Regions from separate parts of the Homo sapiens genome. Here regions 2, 3 and 4 are each linked to region 1. Evidence: promoter capture Hi-C in 16 types of primary human blood cells and fetal thymus (Javierre and others, 2016). All regions are on one chromosome and are shown on one strand. The core of a region is centred on a gene start or on the middle of the fragment in contact, and the rest is flanking DNA. Distances in the headings are between cores, read along the strand shown.

Region 1 (4,802 bases), core at 2,303-4,802:
AGGCTCCTGTCTGGCTCAGCATTCCAGTGGGAACAGCTGAGGGGAGGGAGACAGGGACCTGATTTCAGGGACGCTTCAAGCTTGCTAGCTCCCTTCTCTCTGTATTTCTAGCTGCAAAGGGCACAGACATCTGCATCTTTCTGGGAGAATCATGGGAGAACTGGGATCACTAGGCGTCTCAAACTTGGTCTTTATCCTGGAATGTCCCAAGCAGTAATGTTTACTCGTAAAAGGGCCATCTATTATGACCTGACCTGAGCCAAGCTGGTCCCTGCACAACTCCAAGGTCCCCTTTGATAGGTAAAGATAGCTTACCACTGAAGAAGTCTGAGGTAGCCAAAGGTTAGCTATTTCCACCCAGGATATAATGTCAGGATATAATGAAACTATTATATCAGGATATGATGAATGAATCATGATATGATGAATGAATGTCAGGATATAATGAAAACCATTCTGCCATCTGCGCAGAACTTCTATTAGCCAAAAATGCAGGAGCAAGAGGCCCCAAGCAATTCCTACCCTGTGTACTGTGAGATGGATGGAGCCCCAGCTCTGGATCCTATTGGGTGTCCCAGCCCCCACTGTACAGAATGCCAAGATTCCAGGGGCAGAGTCCTGTTAGCTTTCTAGCTGGCACCAGGCAACCAGGAATTCTCTTTGGCAATGGCTAGAGCGAGGGTGGTTTCTGGATCAAGTCTATGGTGCTAACCCTAAGTGTACAGATTATTGCCTGGCAGGATTCTTATACCCTGTCTAATCAATGTGAGGTGTGTCTCTAAATAGTCAATCTATTTAAAATCTCACCCGGTAGAGCTTATTTTAAGGTAAATTACAGGTATCCTGGCATCGCCCTACATTTCTCTAATGCTTAACAGATGACACACCCCTCAGTTTAAAAAGGATTGGGCGTTTTTCTTTGGGAGCATAGTGGTTTAGTCCATGGGCTCGAGACAGCTTTGGTTCAAATTCTGGCTCTGACAATTACTGCTGGGTGATCTTGGCTAAACTGCTTCACCTCTGTGTGCCTCAGTTTCCTCATCTGTAAATTGAGGCTAATGAGAGCACCTGCCTCCTAATGTCATTTTGATGATTAAAAGAGATACTAATAAATATATGTAGAATGTATAAAATGTTTAGAAGACTGCCTGGCACACAATAAGTGGGCAACATGTAGTCCTCATGAGAAACACCAACATATTCATTACTCCACATTGCATTTAGGTGAAGGTCACAGGATCTTTCTAATCTCTCTCTGCAGCCTTCTCTCCTGTATCTCCCCACTGCACTCTAAGGCTTTTTCTATCTTTGCATTTTTTGTTTCCTCCTCCTGCCCCATCCTCTTGGTTCTTCTCCTGCCTTCTATTCTTGGCAAGCTCCTGTTTAAAGAACACAAACTCGGGGGCCAAAGACATGTTTTACTTATCATGGTCTGTGCTTTTTTTTGAAATGAAAATTGATTTCCAAAATTTACAAATATGAAAATTTCTTACAAAAATCCATAATTTGAAATTATCTTGGAAAAATCCTAAGACACAGTCATGCTGGGGTCCAGCTTTCTGCGTGGCAACCAGAGACTAGAGCTGAAGAGGCCTCCCTATGATGGAATGGGCACCCTCCAGTTTGCCACAGTCTTTACCATTCTCTGTTGTCTCAAACTACACTCTTGGCCTGTTTTTTTTTTTTTTTTTTGCAGGTATTTGAGTTTGAGTTCCTTGATCTCTGCATATGATTTTCTGATCCACTCTCCCTCCAGAAAATGGATTCCAGCTTTTGTAGTAACTTAAGACAAATATATATCGTGAGACAGGGTCTTGGCTGTGTTATTCAGGCTAGTCTTGAACTCCTGGGCTCAAGCAGTCTTCCTGCCTTGGCCTCCCAAAGTGCTGGGATTATAGGCATGAGCCACCTTGCCTGGCCAATTCCAGCTTTTGTAAGTCTTTTGCCTTGGAAGTGGCTAAGGCTCAGCTCCTGCTTTTGTTCCATCTCACTATTACCCAACGTCAGGTGGCTTCCCCAACTCTTCAAGGTTGTGGAAAGGGTGCGTATTTTTTAAAAAAAATCTTACGTCGTGCATCTTCCTTCCTTCCTAGAGGTCCTGGAGAGGTGATGAGCTGGGGCAAAGTGAGCGTCTACGGAACTTTCCCCACAGTATCCTCCAGTGACTGAGTCTTTCTCTAGAGACCCCCCTCCTCTAGCTCAACTTCCTGACCCCCTGTGGTCTTACAGAAACCTCTTGGTCCATGGAGGATAGTAAAAACCTGAGAACTGAAATGTATCCATGTTCTCACCACGTAGTAATTCTTACACTTGTTCTTCCATCTATGGATTCCCCTTTTCACTCACCTCCTACATCATCCATCCACTTACTCACTCAACAGCCATTCACCTGGCTGGGCGTGGTGGCTCATGCCTGTAATTTCAGCACTTTGGGAGGCCGAGGTGGGTGGATCATCTGAGGTCAGGAGTTTGAGACTAGCCTGGTCAATCCCCATCTCTACTAAAAATACAAAAAAATTAGCCTGCAATCCCAGCTACTAGGGAGGCTGAGGCGGGAGAATCGCTTGAACCCAGGAGGCAGAAGTTGCAGTGAGCCTAGACCAGCCTGGGCAACAAGAGTGAAACTCTGTCTCAACAAACAAACAAACAAACAAAACAGCCATTCACCTACGACATGCCAGGTACTGTATTATGTTCGTGTTTGGAGAAGAAGAAAAGCAAACAATCAACTGTAGCATAATTCACTTTATTACCTTGGGCAAAACATTGACCTTGTTGGGCCTTTGTTTCCTACAGATTTAATGACTTGTTTAGAGATAATTTTGTCCTGGGTTTCTTCCATCCTGTGACTGCCCTCAACCTTCTAAAGCATCCTGTGCCTTCCGCAAACTGCAAACTGCAGTCTACACTAGTGTAGGGGTATTTCTCTAGAAACCACAAAAGTTCTCAGAGGGAGGGTCAAAGCCAAGGGGTAGAGAAAGATGAAGCGAGAGGCAAAGTGGGAGAAGACCCTCCTGTGACACCTGGTCTGGGTGGGGGCTGGGGGTGCAGGAAGGGAGCCGAGGGGGCCAGACCTGCCTGCCAGGAGGACCTGCCAGATGCCCTGCCCATCCTGCGAAATCTTACACCCTCCTTGCTCCCTACCAGCCCTGGCTCCAGCTCAAGCTGGATTGCAATCTGCATAATGTGTCCCATTTAGATTGGATGGAAGGGGGTGAGAACAGGAGGGCGGAGAGCACTGAGGAGGGAGTGCCCTAAAGGGCAGGCAGGAAGTGGTGGCCAGAGGAAAGTGGAGGGATAGGGGCTGGGGTGAAGGTGGGTGGCAGCCAGAAAGGAGAGGCGGGGCCAGGAAAGCCGACTTGCAAAACCACAGATAATGTTCAGCCCAGCACAGTAGGGGTCAATTTGGTCCACTTGCTCAGTGACAAAAAGAAAAAAAAAGTGGGCTGTCACTAAAGATTTTGACTCACAAGAGAGGGGCTGGTCTGGAGGTGGGAGGAGGGAGTGACGAGTCAAGGAGGAGACAGGGACGCAGGAGGGTGCAAGGAAGTGTCTTAACTGAGACGGGGGTAAGGCAAGAGAGGGTGGAGGAAATTCTGCAGGAGACAGGCTTCCTCCAGGGTCTGGAGAACCCAGAGGCAGCTCCTCCTGAGTGCTGGGAAGGACTCTGGGCATCTTCAGCCCTTCTTACTCTCTGAGGCTCAAGCCAGAAATTCAGGCTGCTTGCAGAGTGGGTGACAGAGCCACGGAGCTGGTGTCCCTGGGACCCTCTGCCCGTCTTCTCTCCACTCCCCAGCATGGAGGAAGGTGGTGATTTTGACAACTACTATGGGGCAGACAACCAGTCTGAGTGTGAGTACACAGACTGGAAATCCTCGGGGGCCCTCATCCCTGCCATCTACATGTTGGTCTTCCTCCTGGGCACCACGGGCAACGGTCTGGTGCTCTGGACCGTGTTTCGGAGCAGCCGGGAGAAGAGGCGCTCAGCTGATATCTTCATTGCTAGCCTGGCGGTGGCTGACCTGACCTTCGTGGTGACGCTGCCCCTGTGGGCTACCTACACGTACCGGGACTATGACTGGCCCTTTGGGACCTTCTTCTGCAAGCTCAGCAGCTACCTCATCTTCGTCAACATGTACGCCAGCGTCTTCTGCCTCACCGGCCTCAGCTTCGACCGCTACCTGGCCATCGTGAGGCCAGTGGCCAATGCTCGGCTGAGGCTGCGGGTCAGCGGGGCCGTGGCCACGGCAGTTCTTTGGGTGCTGGCCGCCCTCCTGGCCATGCCTGTCATGGTGTTACGCACCACCGGGGACTTGGAGAACACCACTAAGGTGCAGTGCTACATGGACTACTCCATGGTGGCCACTGTGAGCTCAGAGTGGGCCTGGGAGGTGGGCCTTGGGGTCTCGTCCACCACCGTGGGCTTTGTGGTGCCCTTCACCATCATGCTGACCTGTTACTTCTTCATCGCCCAAACCATCGCTGGCCACTTCCGCAAGGAACGCATCGAGGGCCTGCGGAAGCGGCGCCGGCTGCTCAGCATCATCGTGGTGCTGGTGGTGACCTTTGCCCTGTGCTGGATGCCCTACCACCTGGTGAAGACGCTGTACATGCTGGGCAGCCTGCTGCACTGGCCCTGTGACTTTGACCTCTTCCTCATGAACATCTTCCCCTACTGCACCTGCATCAGCTACGTCAACAGCTGCCTCAACCCCTTCCTCTATGCCTTTTTCGACCCCCGCTTCCGCCAGGCCTGCACCTCCATGCTCTGCTGTGGCCAGAGCAGGTGCGCAGGCACCTCC
Region 2 (4,868 bases), core at 629-3,128, 390 kb after region 1:
AATTTATGATACAAGAAAATTAAAGATGCCTGCAGAGGAAGTCTGGCAAGATTGCCTCCAGGTCCTTAGTATACTAAGGGAGTATGTGTCTAAAGACCCTAAACCTTAAAATATGATGTGCTCATCCTCACAAACTGCCAAATGACAACGGGCCTTTTATTCCTATAAACTTCCATTATCCTGCTACTGATGTAAAGATGAATTTCATGTTAATCATTAATGTCTCTATTTGTGTCAGGAGCCTCCCTGTCTAGACATTTTTTAGCTGGAGGGATAGCGGCTGCAAATTAGCCATGCAGTCACGCAGCACAGAAGTTCCGTTAGCGTAATGAACCTCTTGGGACTGGGATTGAGAACTGCAGGGACAGCAGCATCTCTGTGTGTCCCCTGCTGCCACTCGCCATTTTGGTAGAGTCAATACGATGCCTTTTTAATCACAATTTTGTTTCAACACATTTTGATCTGTTAATGGGCATTCATATGTCTTTGGTGAATATCTTGCTTTTTAAAAACATTTTCAAAGGAAGAAACTGTTTTTTACATTTACCAAAAGCCTATTAAGTGCAAATTCAAAGTGCCTATTTTCCACCTGTCCTCTGTTATTTTCTAGCACTCGCAACTTACAGGAGCCACTCACTTTTCTACTTTAGAAAAATTTTTCTTCTCATTTCTGCCCATACCTTCCCTGATCTCTCTTGTCTTTTGGTATTTCTCCCCTCCATCTGATGAGCTGCTCAGTTGTCATACATTTTCTGGTTTCAGCTCCCCGGAGAGGGCGGTTTATTTTCCACTCCGATTTTCTTGCAAGGGTCTGTTCATCCCACTTCTGACCTTTCTTTTTTGGAGACAGAAAAAGGAGGCATAGCATTAAATTGACCACGGCTAAATGTTTTGCCTGGACTGGGGAGCTGAGAAGAGAAGGCTGTAAATCTAGATATGAGGACTGTTTTTGTTCATCACACTCTTGCCATGATCAATCTTTGTGTATTCTTGTGGAGTGACATCCATGCCTAGTTTGCTTCTGTAGCCTTTTATTGAATTGCGAGCTTATCCCTGATGATTCTGGAATTGCTGGGCAGAGTCTGGCTGAAAACATTATCGTCCCTGCAAAAACCCTGGGCTGCGAAATAGTTTTGTTTAAGAGTAGATTTGTTAGAATTAGGCTTCCCTCTCCATGACCAGATTCTTTGCTATGAGCAGGAAATGAAATAAAGAGGAAAGCAGCCCTAGATATTTATCTCTAACTCCACTGTATTGGGATTTAGTCCATGTTTTCTGGGCTTCCCGATCAGAGGGTGAATGTAAATCACTGCGTAACTCTGACCATTCCTTTCTGTGCTGTGTGGGAGGAAACCTGGGGCATGCGGTCTCCAACATGCACTCAGGCTGGCTGTGGTGGGGATGGCATTCACTCATTAACACTTGCAAGGCCCTCCTTGAGGTTTGCTTCTCAGTTCTGCATCCTGTTGTACATGAGATTCACCTTCTGTGTTCCCAAGTCATGTTTACATTCAAGTAGCATTTGGCTCCTTGGCATAGGGATAATTCCCACCCTTATTTAATGAGTCCTGACTATATTGCTGAATCAAAAACTCAGCTTACTTGCTTATGAACTTCCAAGCATTATTGTTTTTGTGGTGGGAAAAAAGACGTGCTGGAGTGCTATAGTGGTTTTTCAAGTCAGGACCTGAATTGTTAAACTGTCATCCAAATCCTAGTTGTAGTCCACCCTGATATACATTGTTTCTAGGACAGTGAGTCAAGCTTTTAGAGAAGCAGCAATTTTAATGGATTCAAGTCCATCAACAGCCCTCAGGAGAAGGCTTGCAAAATATCCCCGAGATATCTCTGGATATGTGTGTCTTTGTGCTGCCTGCTCTGTGTTCCTCCCTTGACTCAAAGTCCTTTCCATTTCTACTGCTGGAGAGTTTACCATGCAAATCCTGCAATCTGGGTAGAAAGCAATTTATGCAAGTAGGCTCCAAAGCTTGGTATGAGGCCAATGCCACACGAGCAGGCGAGGCTCAGAGTGTCCAGTCTTAACCATTGCAAAAGATCAAAAGTGTGTCTGGAAGTGGTGGGTTCTTGGTCTCACTGACTTCAAGTATGAAGCTGCGGACCCTTGCGGCGAGTGTTACAGTTCTTAAAGATGGTGTGTCCAGAGTTTCTTCCTTCTGGTGGGTTCGTGGTCTCACTGGCTTCAGGAGTGAAGCTGCAGACCTTTGCGGTGAGTGTTACAGCTCTTAAAGGCGCGTTTCGGGAGTTGTTCGTCCCTCCTGGTGGGTTCGTGGTCTCGCTGGCTTCACAAGTGAAGCTGCAGACCTTCCCGGTGAGTGTTACAGCTCATAAAGGTGGCGTGGACCCTAAGAGTGAGCAGCAGCAAATTTATTGCAAAGAGCAAAAGAACAAATCTTCCACAGTGGGGAAGGGGACCCAGCGGCAGTGGGTTGCCACTGCTGGCTCTGGCAGCCTGCTTTTACTCCCTTATCTGGCCCCACCCACATCCTGCTGATTGGTCCATTTTACAGAGAGCTGATTGGTCCATTTTGGCAGGGCACTGATTGGTGCATTTACAATCCCTGAGCTAGACACAAAAGTTCTCCAAGTCCCCACTAGATTAGCTAGACACAGAGCACTGATTGGTGCATTTACAAACCTTGAGCTAGACACAGGGTGCTGATTGGTGTGTTTATAAATCTTGAGCTGCACACAGAGTGCTGATTGGTGTATTTACAATCCCTCAGCTAGACATAAAGGTTCTCCAAGTCCCCACTAGATTAGCCAGACACAGAACATTGATTGGTGCATTTACAAACCTTGAGCTAGACACAGAGTGCTGATTGATGCATTCACAATCCCCTAGTCTTACATAAAGGTTCTCCAAGTCCCCACTAGACTCAGGAGCCCAGCTGGCTTTACCTAGTGGATCCCACAGGGGGCTGCAGGTGGAGCTGCCTGCCAGTCCAGCGCCATGTGCCAGCACTAGTCAGCCCTTGGGCAGTCATGGGAGTGGGTGCCTTAGAGCAGGGGGCGGTGCTCATCGGGGAGGCTCGGCCCGGCAGGAGCCCACTGCAGGGGAGGCTCTGGCCTGGCGGGCTGCAGGTCCCGAGCCCTGCCCTGCAAGGAGGCAGCTGAGGCCCAGCAAGAATTGGAGCACAGTGCTGGCAGGCTGGCATTGCTGGGGGACCCAGAGCACCCTCCGCAGCTGCTGGCCCAGGTGCTAAGCCCCTCACTGCCGGGGGCTGGCGGAGATGGCTGGCTTCTCCAAGTGCGGGGCCGCCAAGCCCACGCCCACCCAGAACTCGTGCTGGCCCACGATTGCTGCACGCAGCCTGGGTTCCCGCCCGCGCCTCTCCCTCCACACCTCCCCCTCCACACCTCCCCTTAAGCAGAGGGAGCTGGCTCTGGCCTCGGCCAGCCCAGAGAGGGGCCCCCACAGCGCAGTGGCGGGCTGAAGGGCTCCTAGAGCATGGCCAGAGCAGACACCGAGGCTGAGGAGGCGCTGAGAGCGAGTGAGGGCTGTGAGGGCTGCCAGCATGCTGTCACCTCTCAAAAGGTTTCATCTGTAGCAGGGACAGAAACAGTTACATCCCGTTTGCACCTGGGAGCAGCACAGTTATTGAGGCTGGAGAGAGAACTCACTAACTCCAGCAACAGACATAAGAGTAGTCAGCCATGAGTTGGGTATTGGTGATTCTCACAACTAACTCTGGCTCCAGGAGAAAGAGCAGGAATCAGTCTCAATTGAAGCTGGAGTTCAAGAAGATTTCAGACACATTCTGAGTCCCGATAAAGGCTGAAAGGGAAATATTTGAATGCGGGGGAAGGTAGGGATGAAGAGTGGAAATGGAGCCAAATATACTGTTTCTGTCTTTGTTTTAACTGTTTAATTCTTAATTGTCTTCTTCTGGTTTGAGGAAGCGCTGTTATATACATAAATACAAGATTAATCTTAGCTGGTCTACTGCAATCCTATGTTTATTTCCAGGGATGCTTGGAGCCATTGTTGTCTGGAGGGAGGACTGACTTATTTCCAGAGATTCCTGGAGACACTGCTGGAACCTTAGCCAAATCAGAATAAGCTCAACTAACTGGTGACAAATATTCCTGTGCTAGGACCTGAGACAGGCCAAGTGAGAGATCTGTAGTAGTTTATTAGCTTTGTTCATTAAAAAAACAACAAAAAATTCCAGATTGGTGTTTTTTACCTAGTTTCTACTATGTTCTCTTTGTTTCTTCTGTTCGCTTTTGTCATGCAGCCCAGTTTTGGTTATGAGACCAGACAGATATGAAAGACCACTCCTTGGACAAGACTGTGATTCTCCAGAGCTCAAGTTTTCTTGTATATATCTTAGTAGTTCATGATTCAGATTAAAATCGCATCCTAATCAATTGAGAAATGATCCTGGAAGCTGGGTCTGAAGGTCTTGGACTTTTCTGAGGTTTTCTGTGCTTTCCCCCCACCTACTTTAGAGTATCCTTTACTTTATTAAGACTGTACTCTGTGGAGTCTCATGAGTCGTTTCAGTTGTTCAGCCCTGTGTATTGATGCATCATGTTAGTTTTGTGTTCACTCTGGAATGTGATACAGTAAAAGGTCTATATATTTTTTTCAACTCATCTAAATTGTCTTAGGTCTAGCTGGACTTGATCAAATGGCAATTGAGAAAGTCAGGCTTTAAGTAAGCCAGATATCTGGCTTTTGATTCTCCTCTTTCTCACTGTCTTCTCCTCATTCCCCTTAGATATAGAATACCCTCATAATTTTTCTAATATCCTCCCATCAATGCCTTCTGTGGATTGCTCTAAGAGACTTCCCTAATTCTTTTCTACCCCATTTTCATTAAATAAAATTAGTTTCCAGCCCT
Region 3 (5,238 bases), core at 1,992-4,491, 420 kb after region 1:
ATATTTCTCAGCATGTAGTGGTTTCACCAGGATTCAGAAAGCTGTAGTGGATCTGACTGGTGGCAGACCACATAACAGCAACCATTGTAAGAATTAAATAAAGAGGAGAGAAACACAAAGGGTGGCTTGACAGTTAATGGTTTATTTCGGAAAACAAACATGGGAGGGACTTCAGGCTGAGTTAGGTCAAAAGCTGCACTCTCTTACAGACTAAGAGTTTTTAAGGATTCAGTGTGGGAGAGTTTATTAGAGGCTTGGACTGCTTCTGTGTCTCTTTGTTGTGCTTATCTGGGAGGGAAAGTTGTGTGTCAGTTCCCATACACCTTTCTGCAGCTGCAAGCACCTCGCCCGAGTCTGCCTTTAGCTTCCCTATCTTAGTGGACCTGAAAGGAAAGGAATGTGCTTATTACTGGGGCCCCATTGTATGAGCGTGAAGTTTGGCAGTTACCCAAGAGACTTCCTCCCCACCCTCCTCTGCACCTGAGCTGTGTTATCTGTGTTTTACTGTCTGCTCTTTTCTGGCTGCTTGTAGTTAGAAGAGAAAGTGATTCCTTGGAATCTGTGAAGCTAGAAAGGGAGCTGGAACTTAAAGTAGCAGTGTTTGTCTGAGATAATGGTGCTCCTGCTCTGTCAACCATGACCTTTTTTTGGTGCAAGTTTGGTTTTGGGAAGCACTTTAGAGCTTCTTCTCAGTCCAACCACTGAGCTGGTCATTGCCGATTGACATATAAAATCCACTTTTTGTTGCACCTCACAATCCGATTGAGAAATGGTTTGTTATTGTGTAGAGCAAGAGAAGACAACACTTCAAAAAGACATTTTTAAAAAATTTTTGCTCAGCTCATGAGGCACCCATGTATTGAGCTTGTTTACCTTTCCAATCTGCTTCAAATGCTCAATGACTGTAGAATGGTTGACATCAAGCTTTTTGGCAACTTCTTGTGTAGTTGTAAGATCAGCATTGATGATTGCTCTCATTTGGTAATTGCCAACTTCTGATTGCCGGCCATTATGCTCCTTATCTTCAAGGCTCTTGTCTCCTTTGCAAAACTTCTTGAACCACTGCTGCACTGTACATCTGTTAGCAGTTCCTGGGCCAAATGCATTGCTGGTGTTGAGAGTTGTCTCTGCTGCTTTACAACCCATTTTGAACTCGAATAAGATAATCATTCAAATTTGCTTTTTGTCTAACATCATTTCCACAGTCTAAAATAAATATAAAATAAATGGCAAGTAATAAGTCATTAGCAAAAAAAACATAAAGTGAGACATGTCCATTAGAATGATGTATAATATAAACACATTTACTTAAGAATGCATTCAAATGTCAAACGGCAGATTCCCACTGAGTCTTGTAATAAGCTCCACACTGCTTCTTTTCCCACTACTGCAACCTTCAACATCATAACATCTGTTGTACATCACGTGGCTCAAGTGGCAGGGCTGCTTGGACTGCAACTGGGATCTGCTGCAGAGCCCTTTCCTGCAGCAGATTCCAGTTAACACTAGCAGCCTTTGTGTCACTTGGTATAGCGGCTGGAACAATATTCTTAGCTATGGAATGTGTTGCTTCCAAAACCCAGGGTCCTACCAAGACACTGCCTCTGTGATCTTCACTTCAAAGGAGTTATTCTAGTATTCCCCTAAGCACTGAACCTGCAAAAGCTTTCCCTAAGTGTCCAAATTCCCAAATCTTAATATGGTTTATCTCATACCCCCTGTAGCACATGTGCTTTACCAAGATCTCCAATATTCTAGTAACAACTTGTGTAACTTGCTCTGTCATTATGATGTTATCAATGTAATAAATCAGTATGATGTTTTGAGAAATGCTTAGGTGGACAATATCTTCATTCTATATTTCCTTGGGCAGGAAAACTAACATAGTCTTGAGACATAATTGAAAGTGAATACAGTATCGTTCATCTCACATGAATGTAAGTCATTTCTGATCCTCTTTTCTAACCGCAACAGAAAATAATTCATTCCCCAAATCACTGACTGTATCATATACTGGAGACCTTTTAAATGATTCTGTGTTTAGTATAACACTGCTATTGGGGCTACTACTTGGCTGAACTCGAGGCAGTCTATATTCATTCTCTAGAAAACATATGGGTCTTCAGGGTCCAGGCTGATGAATTAAATAGAGAGGGAAAAGAGACAACTGCTGCTACATTTTTTATGTCTTTAGTGGTGGCATTAATTTCCAATTCAAGTGTTCTGGAATCCTATCATCTCCAGTGACTCCAGGAAGCCTAGATCCATAGCAGCATCTCAAACGACTGAGCTTTTCACCAAGCTGGTGGCTCTCTAGTGCTTATCTTTATTGCTTTAGTGGAAAAAGTGTCCTTTGGGTCTTCTCAGGTATACATGCATCTGTAGCTTCTTTGGTCTTGTGTAATAAATCCTTTTTAAGCATCTCTACCTCTTTGAGCATTTGGGCCTTTTCTTCAACACTCTGCATGGCAATAATGGCATCCCTACCTCTTTTACTGCATGCTGTTATTTTTTCCAAAATTCAAAGAGCCATCCTAACAGTGCATTAGAATCAGCTTCTGGTGTCCTGCCTGCAAGCTAATTTCTGAGTCACTGAGGTTCTCCTATGTCAGAAAATTCTCCCCTACTCAGCTTTTTATTTCCCCAGTCCTAGAATTACCCTCAAGATATTAATATATGCTTTTATATGTTCTCCTTGTTCTTGTGGCACATTTTAGCCAATTCTTTGAACTCCTGGTGGGTAATCATTTTCCTCTTAAAGTAGAGCCAATTCTCCTTAGTCATCACACCTCATCATTCTAAGCCTTGACCCTGGTTGCTAAGTCTAAGAGCCATGAGGGGAAGAAAGACTACATCCTGAGAAAAGAAATTACTCTCTTGTGAATGCTCTGACTCATGTGAGGCCTCTTTATTCTCTCTAAGCAAAGGAAGGCTGCTGCCTTCTGGCAAAGGGAACAGGACTACTTCTGCAGGTTCAAGGTTTCAAGGGTACTGGAAAATCTCAAGCACATACACACCGATGTCTTAATCCCAATTCTCAGTGTTCAGCTTTTCCCCTGTCAGAGTTCTGTGGCTCTAAAGAGGCTTTGAATTTAGCTTTTTTATTATTACTTCTTGCAACCTGGTACAAGATGTGTAACATCTGTAATATACAAATCTGATTGAGTTCTCATGCAGTCTGGGTAGAGTTTTCATGCAGTCTGGTCTCTAATTGAAGATGAATGTTTTTTGAACATTGCCTTTCTGACTTTGACACCATGCCTGAGTTGAAAATTGTCCTATTTGAGTCTGTTTTCATCATTGAGCATATTAAAGACATTTAATGTAAATTAATTTCATAGTTTAATAATTATTGTTGCTCCCCATATTTCTCATGTTGCATAAGTCAACATACATCTCTCACTTGTACCCTATCCCAATTCACTGCAGGTGAGTCTTGGTAACTGAGATGCTAAGGCATGCCCATGGTTATTACCATTCTGTTCCATCAGCAATGGGTATTGTTGCCATCTTTCCAGTGAGTAATTTGATTCCAGAATTACATCCCAATAATCTGCACCTTAAGGGTCACTCTGGTACGAGGCATCTTAGTTTGAGTTTTCCAGGAAACAAACCTTGAGGAAAAGATTCAAGTGCAAGCATTGGTTGATAATAGTTTATTTGGGAAGCAACTAAAACATTGACAGGGAAGTTAGAAGTGAGATAATGAATGGAAAGAAATTAATACTCTCTGGAAGAGTTTCCTATATTTATTTTGGGAGTGATGGTATAAAGGTGTATATTCCATTTGATAATTTAGAAACATGGTAATCAGTTCTTATCTCTTCTAGTGGTTACCTTTTGGATTCTATGTAGTATACAGCTATTTATTGAACTATTTAAAGTGTTAATGAGAAGATCACTGCAGTGGTCAACTGAGCACTGCCAGTGCTGGAGATCTCTGGGTGCCAGTGCATAAAACACAAGAATCAGAGTATTCCCACCTGAGAGAGCCTGAGTCAAGAAATGTTTACATAAGCCAGTCTTTGGTTGACAGTTGCTCCTGGAAAGTGTTCATTTTCTGCCACTTCCAGCTTGTTAGGCAGGTAGAAAAGCGGCGGAAAGATAAATCCTCACACACACACACAAATCCACACACAAAAACCTTTGGTGTTAGCAGTTGAAGATGGAACTGAAGTGCACTGAAATGATAAGAGAGAGGCACAAACAGAGTTTGCTATACTGATCATTGCAACAAATGGAAATAGTTTTCATCTATACTTTATCTAGGGACAGTCATTTAGTCAGGAGCTGATTTTAACCTTCTTATTCTCTGCTAGTAATGGGAGGAACAGTTGCATCATGCACTGACCCTGCCCAGTGAGAAAGTGACCACATTTCATTTTAAATGACTGTGTGTGGGTCAGGAGAATATACAAATCTGATTCAAATAAACTGCTGGGAATATCAATATTCATATTTTGGCTTAAAGAAATGAGTTTCTTCTTGGTCAGTGGTTGGAGAATAGTATTATTACTTATGTTTTTGCAAAAGGGTGGCAGTAAAGAGAATTTACAAGTTTGGAGAAGACATTCATAAAATGGAAGTTTTGGTCCTAAGTTGTGAGTCTTTTCTGTGAATGGATATACTGTACATGCTATTTTATATCCTGATTTCTATCCATTGATATAAATACCTTTCATTTGATTAAAAACTTCATACAACTTATTACATTAAAGTATTTTTATATTTTAAAGTGTGTTTTTATAATACAGTATGATTGTACATGGTACAAAATTCAAATAGTACACTAGGAAATGTAAACAAGATAAGCTTCCTATCCATTCCAAACAGAATTTATGTTGTATTTTTTGAGAACTTTTTTGCATATAGAAACATGTATAAGTGTATGTGCATGTGTAGATTCCGAAGAGTTACACAAATGAGAGAGTGGACTTCCATTGAAGTTATAGCATGCTTGAATGATCTATTTCACCAATACTTGCTTATGGAAATAAAGGGAAGTGACAGCGGAAAGAAGAAGAGGAGTGGAGGAGGGGATTGAGGCCAAAGGAGACTCTGACCACATACAGGTATTGCACAGAATATTTTCAGATTGTTTGGTTTACACTGAGTGCTATAGCTCCATTTTTGTGTAGCAGAAAAAAATGAGATTTCAATAATTCTTTTCGCATTTTTTGTTTTTATTATGTATTATCCTTATCAATGGATGGAGACTAGCTAATTTGGCCATGAGAA
Region 4 (4,773 bases), core at 1,386-3,885, 370 kb after region 1:
ACAAGGCAAGTCCCTTCTGCCTATAAGACTGTAAACTCAAAAGTAAGCTAGTTACTTCCTAGATACAATGGGGTACAGGTATTGGGCAAATACAGCTGTTCCAACGGGGAGAAATTGGCCAAAACAAAGGTGTTACAGGCCCCATGCAAGTCTGAAATCCAGCATGGCAGTCAAATCTTAAAGCTCCAAATGGTCTCCTTTGACTCCATGTCTCACATCTAGGTCATGCTGATGTAAGAGGTGGCTTCCCATCGTCTTGGGCACTGCACTTGATGGATCAGCTGGTGTCACCCAGATTGATTAAGTAGCTCATCTGATCTTGTGGTCCCCACCCAGGAACTGACTCAGTGCAAGGGGACAGCTTCAATTCCCTATGATTCATCTCCTACCTAACCAATCAGCACTCCTGGCTCACTGGCTTTCCCCCATCCACCAAGTTGTGCTTACAAACTCTGATCCCAAAATGCTCAGGGAGACTGATTTGAGTAACAATAAAACTCTGATCTGCGTGAATGACTCTTTCTATTACAACTCCCCTGTCTTGATAAATCAGCTCTGTCTAGGGAGTGGGCAGCGTGAATCCATTGGGTGGTTACAGTTTGAGCCACAAAGATAGCTCAAGTTGGTACCAAGCACTAACAGGAAATTTACCAAAGGTCAGGGGTATCTGCACTCAGAATCCCTTCATGGTTACCAAAATGTGAGACCCAAATATCTGAGACAGGTCTCAGTCAATTTAGCAAGTATATTTTTCCAAAGTTAGGGATGCACCTGTGACATCCTCAGGAGGTCCTGAGGTCATGTGCCCAAGGTGGTCAGGGTACAGCTTGCTTTTATGCATTTTAGGGAGACATGAGACATGAATCAATATGTGTAAGATATACATTGGTTTGGTCTGGTAAGGTGGGACAACTCGAAGTGGGGGCTTCCACATTAGAAGTAGATAAGAGATAAAAGGTTGCATTCTTTGGAGTCCTTGATCAGCCCTCTTCTGAATACACAATTTAGTCTGGATCAGTGAATCTGCATTTTTACATAAACAGTAGGGCAGAGGAAGCAATCAGATCTATATTTGTCTCAGGTGAGCTCAGAGGGATGACTTTGAGTTCTGTCTGTTCTTTGTCCACAAGAAATTTCCTTCTGGGAAAATTGTGAGAAATGAATGTAGCTTCTTATCTTTGTAGCTATGTTATTTAGGAATAATATGGGAGGGAAGTTTGCCCTATGCAGTTTCCAGCTTGACTTTTCCCTCTGGCTTAGTGATTTTGGGGTCCCAAGATTTATTTTCCTATTACACTACTTTGTACCCTGGGCCAAGTCCAAATCACAATCTCCGTGATATGATGATAAACAAAATAAACTCTCCTCTCACAAGTAAAAATTTTAGAAGCATATCTTGGAGTCACATATTTGTTTGAAATAATGATGATAATGATCATGATAACAATAATAAAACATTATTAAATATAATAATAAAACATTAATACCTAAAAATTTATTAAGAATTCAAGACATTCCAGCACTACTTTAAAAATTAACTTCACCTCCACTAGAAAGTTAATTCTCACCACAATTTTATGAGGTAAATATAGAAAGTTTTAGTAACTTGCCCAAGTTTGCACAGCTTGCCAATGATATGGCTGGGAAGACTTTTTTTTGTATTATTCCATTTATAGTCACTACTTCACCTCTCAGCCATGAAACTTCCTTCTGCTACACATTCCTTAACTTCGTTATCATAACATACTTTGGGAGCCCCCTCACTCTAGCCAATCTAGAAAACTCCCTTGTATTCATTAAGACTCATTTAGGGAAATCTGTGAAATTCATTAAATTTCCCCTGGGTTTCCTTAGTACTTAGTGCATGTCTCTGTCACAGTAAATAATCATTACGTGTCTATACATTTGCCTCCTTCAGTAATCTGTGAGCTCCAAGAGAAACAACATGGTGCTTCTTTTTTTCTTTTTCTTATCCCGAAGATGTGGACCAGGTCAATGTCTAATAAATGTTTTATGAATGAATAATGAAAGAATGAAAAAATAACTCAATTACCTGAACAGAGCCAAAATTCAGACAAGAAGAAAACTCTGAGCAGCCCAAATGAATGGCATAGGATTCATGCTGTGAGGTGCACGGGTAGTCCTCAGAGAAGTGCAGTTGGAATGTATCAAATTGTCTATTCATCTCTTTCCAATGGAATTGCCCTAACCTCTTTCTAAGGACATGGTTCCATTGGAGCATCATGTTCTTATAATGGAACTCTTTCCTCCAGGCCACGGGCTGCCCCAGGAGACCTACTCAACCCATGTCAAGCCAGTGAATTTCTTTTGGAAGTAGTTATCATCATGAAGGGAGGAGATGTGAATCTGAGAGCTGTTGGCAGTGGTTACTTTCCACCACTTAGACCAGGAAGCCAAGAAGCTTGTCTGCAGCAAGTGTGAAAAGTGAGATGCCAGGAAAAAGAAGTCAAGTTTATAAATTCAGAAAAACTTCCTGGATAGAACTCTCATAGTACTCCAGTGACTGAGGTATATAGGTTCCCTGATAAAATGGCCGTATATATTATATTCACAATTATATCCCCAGCTGTAGTACTGTAGGCATTTTATAATTATTTGTTCAATGAATAAGTAAATAGGGTCTCAAGTGGAGGAAACAGTTAAATGAAAAAAAAGTGGCAGCTGTTCTGAATTATTTTGATCTTGGAAGATTTTATATTTCATGTAGGATTATAATTGACTGATTGTTGATTTCATCATTTTGACTTAGAAACTTTTGCTCTGAAAAATATGGCAGGAGTTCATTTGGGTGGATTAGATAATCATCAAAGTTACTTGAAAAGCTTGTATAAATGTCAGGTTCTGGATACCAGCCTGTGGAAATTCTGATTCAGTTAGTCTGGGGTTGGGTTCCAGAGTCTGCATTTTTCAAAGTGTTCCCCAGGTGATTCTGCTGAATAGCCATGTTCTTAGAGTTCCACAAATCCCCATACCCTGTGGCTCACTCATCTCCCAGTTCTAAGCTATTTATTGCATTGAGTATTTAGGTAACATCAATTTGTCATTTATTCAGTGACTACTTGTTACCAAATATATGTAAAAGACGTCAAAAATTGATGGCTTGCTCTGCTTTCAAAATTTCCTAACAGAAAAGCAGTGGCTACCTTTCTTAAATTAACAATAAAGCAATGTTTTCTTCACAATCAGAAATTTCATGGTATCATCTCTTCATAATGTAAGTAAAGTATGTGTGAAGTCACAAATTCTATACAATGAGAGAACTTGGTTTTACAAAAAAGCTATTCTTATTTCCCTAAATAGGAGTTAATTTATCCTGACCTATTCTGTCTGCTTCTCAGAGAGGTGGGGCATGGATATTGTCCAAGATAAAGTAGAAACTGTAACTTTTACCATAAAGGTCAAATGCACCACTGTGAATTGTGAGCTGAATTTGAAATTTGGATTTATATCTGGAGATCTTGGAAGTGATAGTACTGTTGACTGCCTTTTCAGAGGGTTGGTGGCTGGACTGGGATATGGCAAACATTGAAACACCCTGGGTTCTAGTCACCTTACTGAGCAGCTGGATGCACTACAAAGTTATTTCTCCTTTCTGGGTCTCCATATCTTTATCTTTCATTGAGACATTGTATCCAATGAAGTTGTTCTCAAGCTGGAGGACTTGGAAATCCCAAAAAATACTGAATTAGAAGTCAAAAGCGGTCACTTTGGATGTTCATTTGGGGTCAAGATATTCAAAACAACAAACATAAAAATTGAGCATCAAAATTACATGTCAGAACTTGATAACAAGGGTGGTAATCTTAATAGACACATTATTTTTACAATTTAAATAAAAATGGATTTTTTCTTAGAGTTGTTGAGATGCCAAGTTAAGAAACAATATATCTGAAGTTTCTTCCAGCCATGTCTGATTTTCCAGCTATGTCAAGTTCTTCAGAATGGGGCCAGGAGCCTGGCTGCTACCAGATCATCTTCAGGCAATCAGTCTCCTCCTGTTGACCATAGATAAAGTACACTTCTGAATTCTCCCTACTAGATATAAAGGTTAGGTCTACAGATAACAAGGTGTTTAAGAACTCTGATCTCCTGAGAACACATAATGTGCCAAATATCCTGCTAGGAATTATTGGGAGGTACACAAGAAAGGGAGAGTGTGTGGTCTCTGCCCACCTGTGGTTTGCCATCTGCCACCCTCTTGCATTTTCTGTGCTCCTACAACTTGCCAGGAGCTAGACTATGTGTAGAGTCACACGGAAGCAACTCCTTTTGCTTGGAGTACCCCACACACCTTGCCTTCTTGGAAACCCCTTGGTCATTTTTCAAAACTCAGTTTTCCATATCACTTTTATCTTATAATGATCACTCTTGGTAGGGCTGGAACTCCTTTGTATTCTTACCGTACCTGGGTATGGTGCGATTGTAGCTCTTGTCATACCTCATTTGTATCTTTCCTGAACTAGACCATGAATTCCTTATTTCTCAGTTTCCTAAACCTGCCACTAACTAGTGCTCAATACTTGCTTATAGAGGGAATCAATGTGTCAATGGCTAACTAAAACCCAGAGATGTTCAAATTCTATTCTGTCATCGATTCTCTGAGATGGAGGAGGCTGGGTGGGTGGGTGCAAGTTTCAGTTAAAATAACTCCTAGCTTCCCTTCCTTTTCATTTTAGCAATGCCAGGCCTGACATCTCCTTTCAGCATCATCCCTGATTACTCTCTCCCTCCCTAATTAGAAATGTCCTTAGG

Evidence for each region. Contacts are between HindIII fragments. The CHiCAGO score rates a contact against its expected background, and 5 or more counts as called.
Region 2: a fragment that was not itself captured here is called in contact with the fragment with the promoter of APLNR in region 1 in 10 of 17 cell types (M0 macrophages, megakaryocytes, M1 macrophages and 7 more); the score reaches 13.2 in M0 macrophages.
Region 3: a contact is called between a fragment that was not itself captured here and the fragment with the promoter of APLNR in region 1, in 1 of 17 cell types (M1 macrophages). The highest score is 5.0, in M1 macrophages.
Region 4: a fragment that was not itself captured here is called in contact with the fragment with the promoter of APLNR in region 1 in 4 of 17 cell types (M1 macrophages, endothelial precursors, M0 macrophages and 1 more); the score reaches 6.3 in M1 macrophages.

What each region holds. Positions count from the first base shown.
Region 1 is chr11:57,236,000-57,240,801 of GRCh38, reverse strand. APLNR (apelin receptor) reads left to right here and starts at 3,552. Exons shown (of 1, transcript NM_005161.6): 1 at 3,552-4,802. The coding sequence starts at 3,798. RefSeq lists enhancers at 1-236, 3,278-3,910. The HindIII fragment of the contact is 5,179 bases long and covers 83-4,802 here.
Region 2 is chr11:56,843,685-56,848,552 of GRCh38, reverse strand. LINC02735 (long intergenic non-protein coding RNA 2735) reads right to left here and starts at 75. Exons shown (of 3, transcript NR_110137.1): 1 at 1-75. The HindIII fragment of the contact is 223 bases long and covers 1,767-1,989 here.
Region 3 is chr11:56,813,051-56,818,288 of GRCh38, reverse strand. No RefSeq gene overlaps it. Among named protein-coding and RNA genes, the nearest start is that of LINC02735, 33 kb to the left of the region's middle. The HindIII fragment of the contact is 3,147 bases long and covers 1,668-4,814 here.
Region 4 is chr11:56,861,425-56,866,197 of GRCh38, reverse strand. The region is part of intron 1 of LINC02735 (long intergenic non-protein coding RNA 2735); the gene reads right to left. Among named protein-coding and RNA genes, the nearest start is that of LINC02735, 15 kb to the right of the region's middle. The HindIII fragment of the contact is 421 bases long and covers 2,425-2,845 here.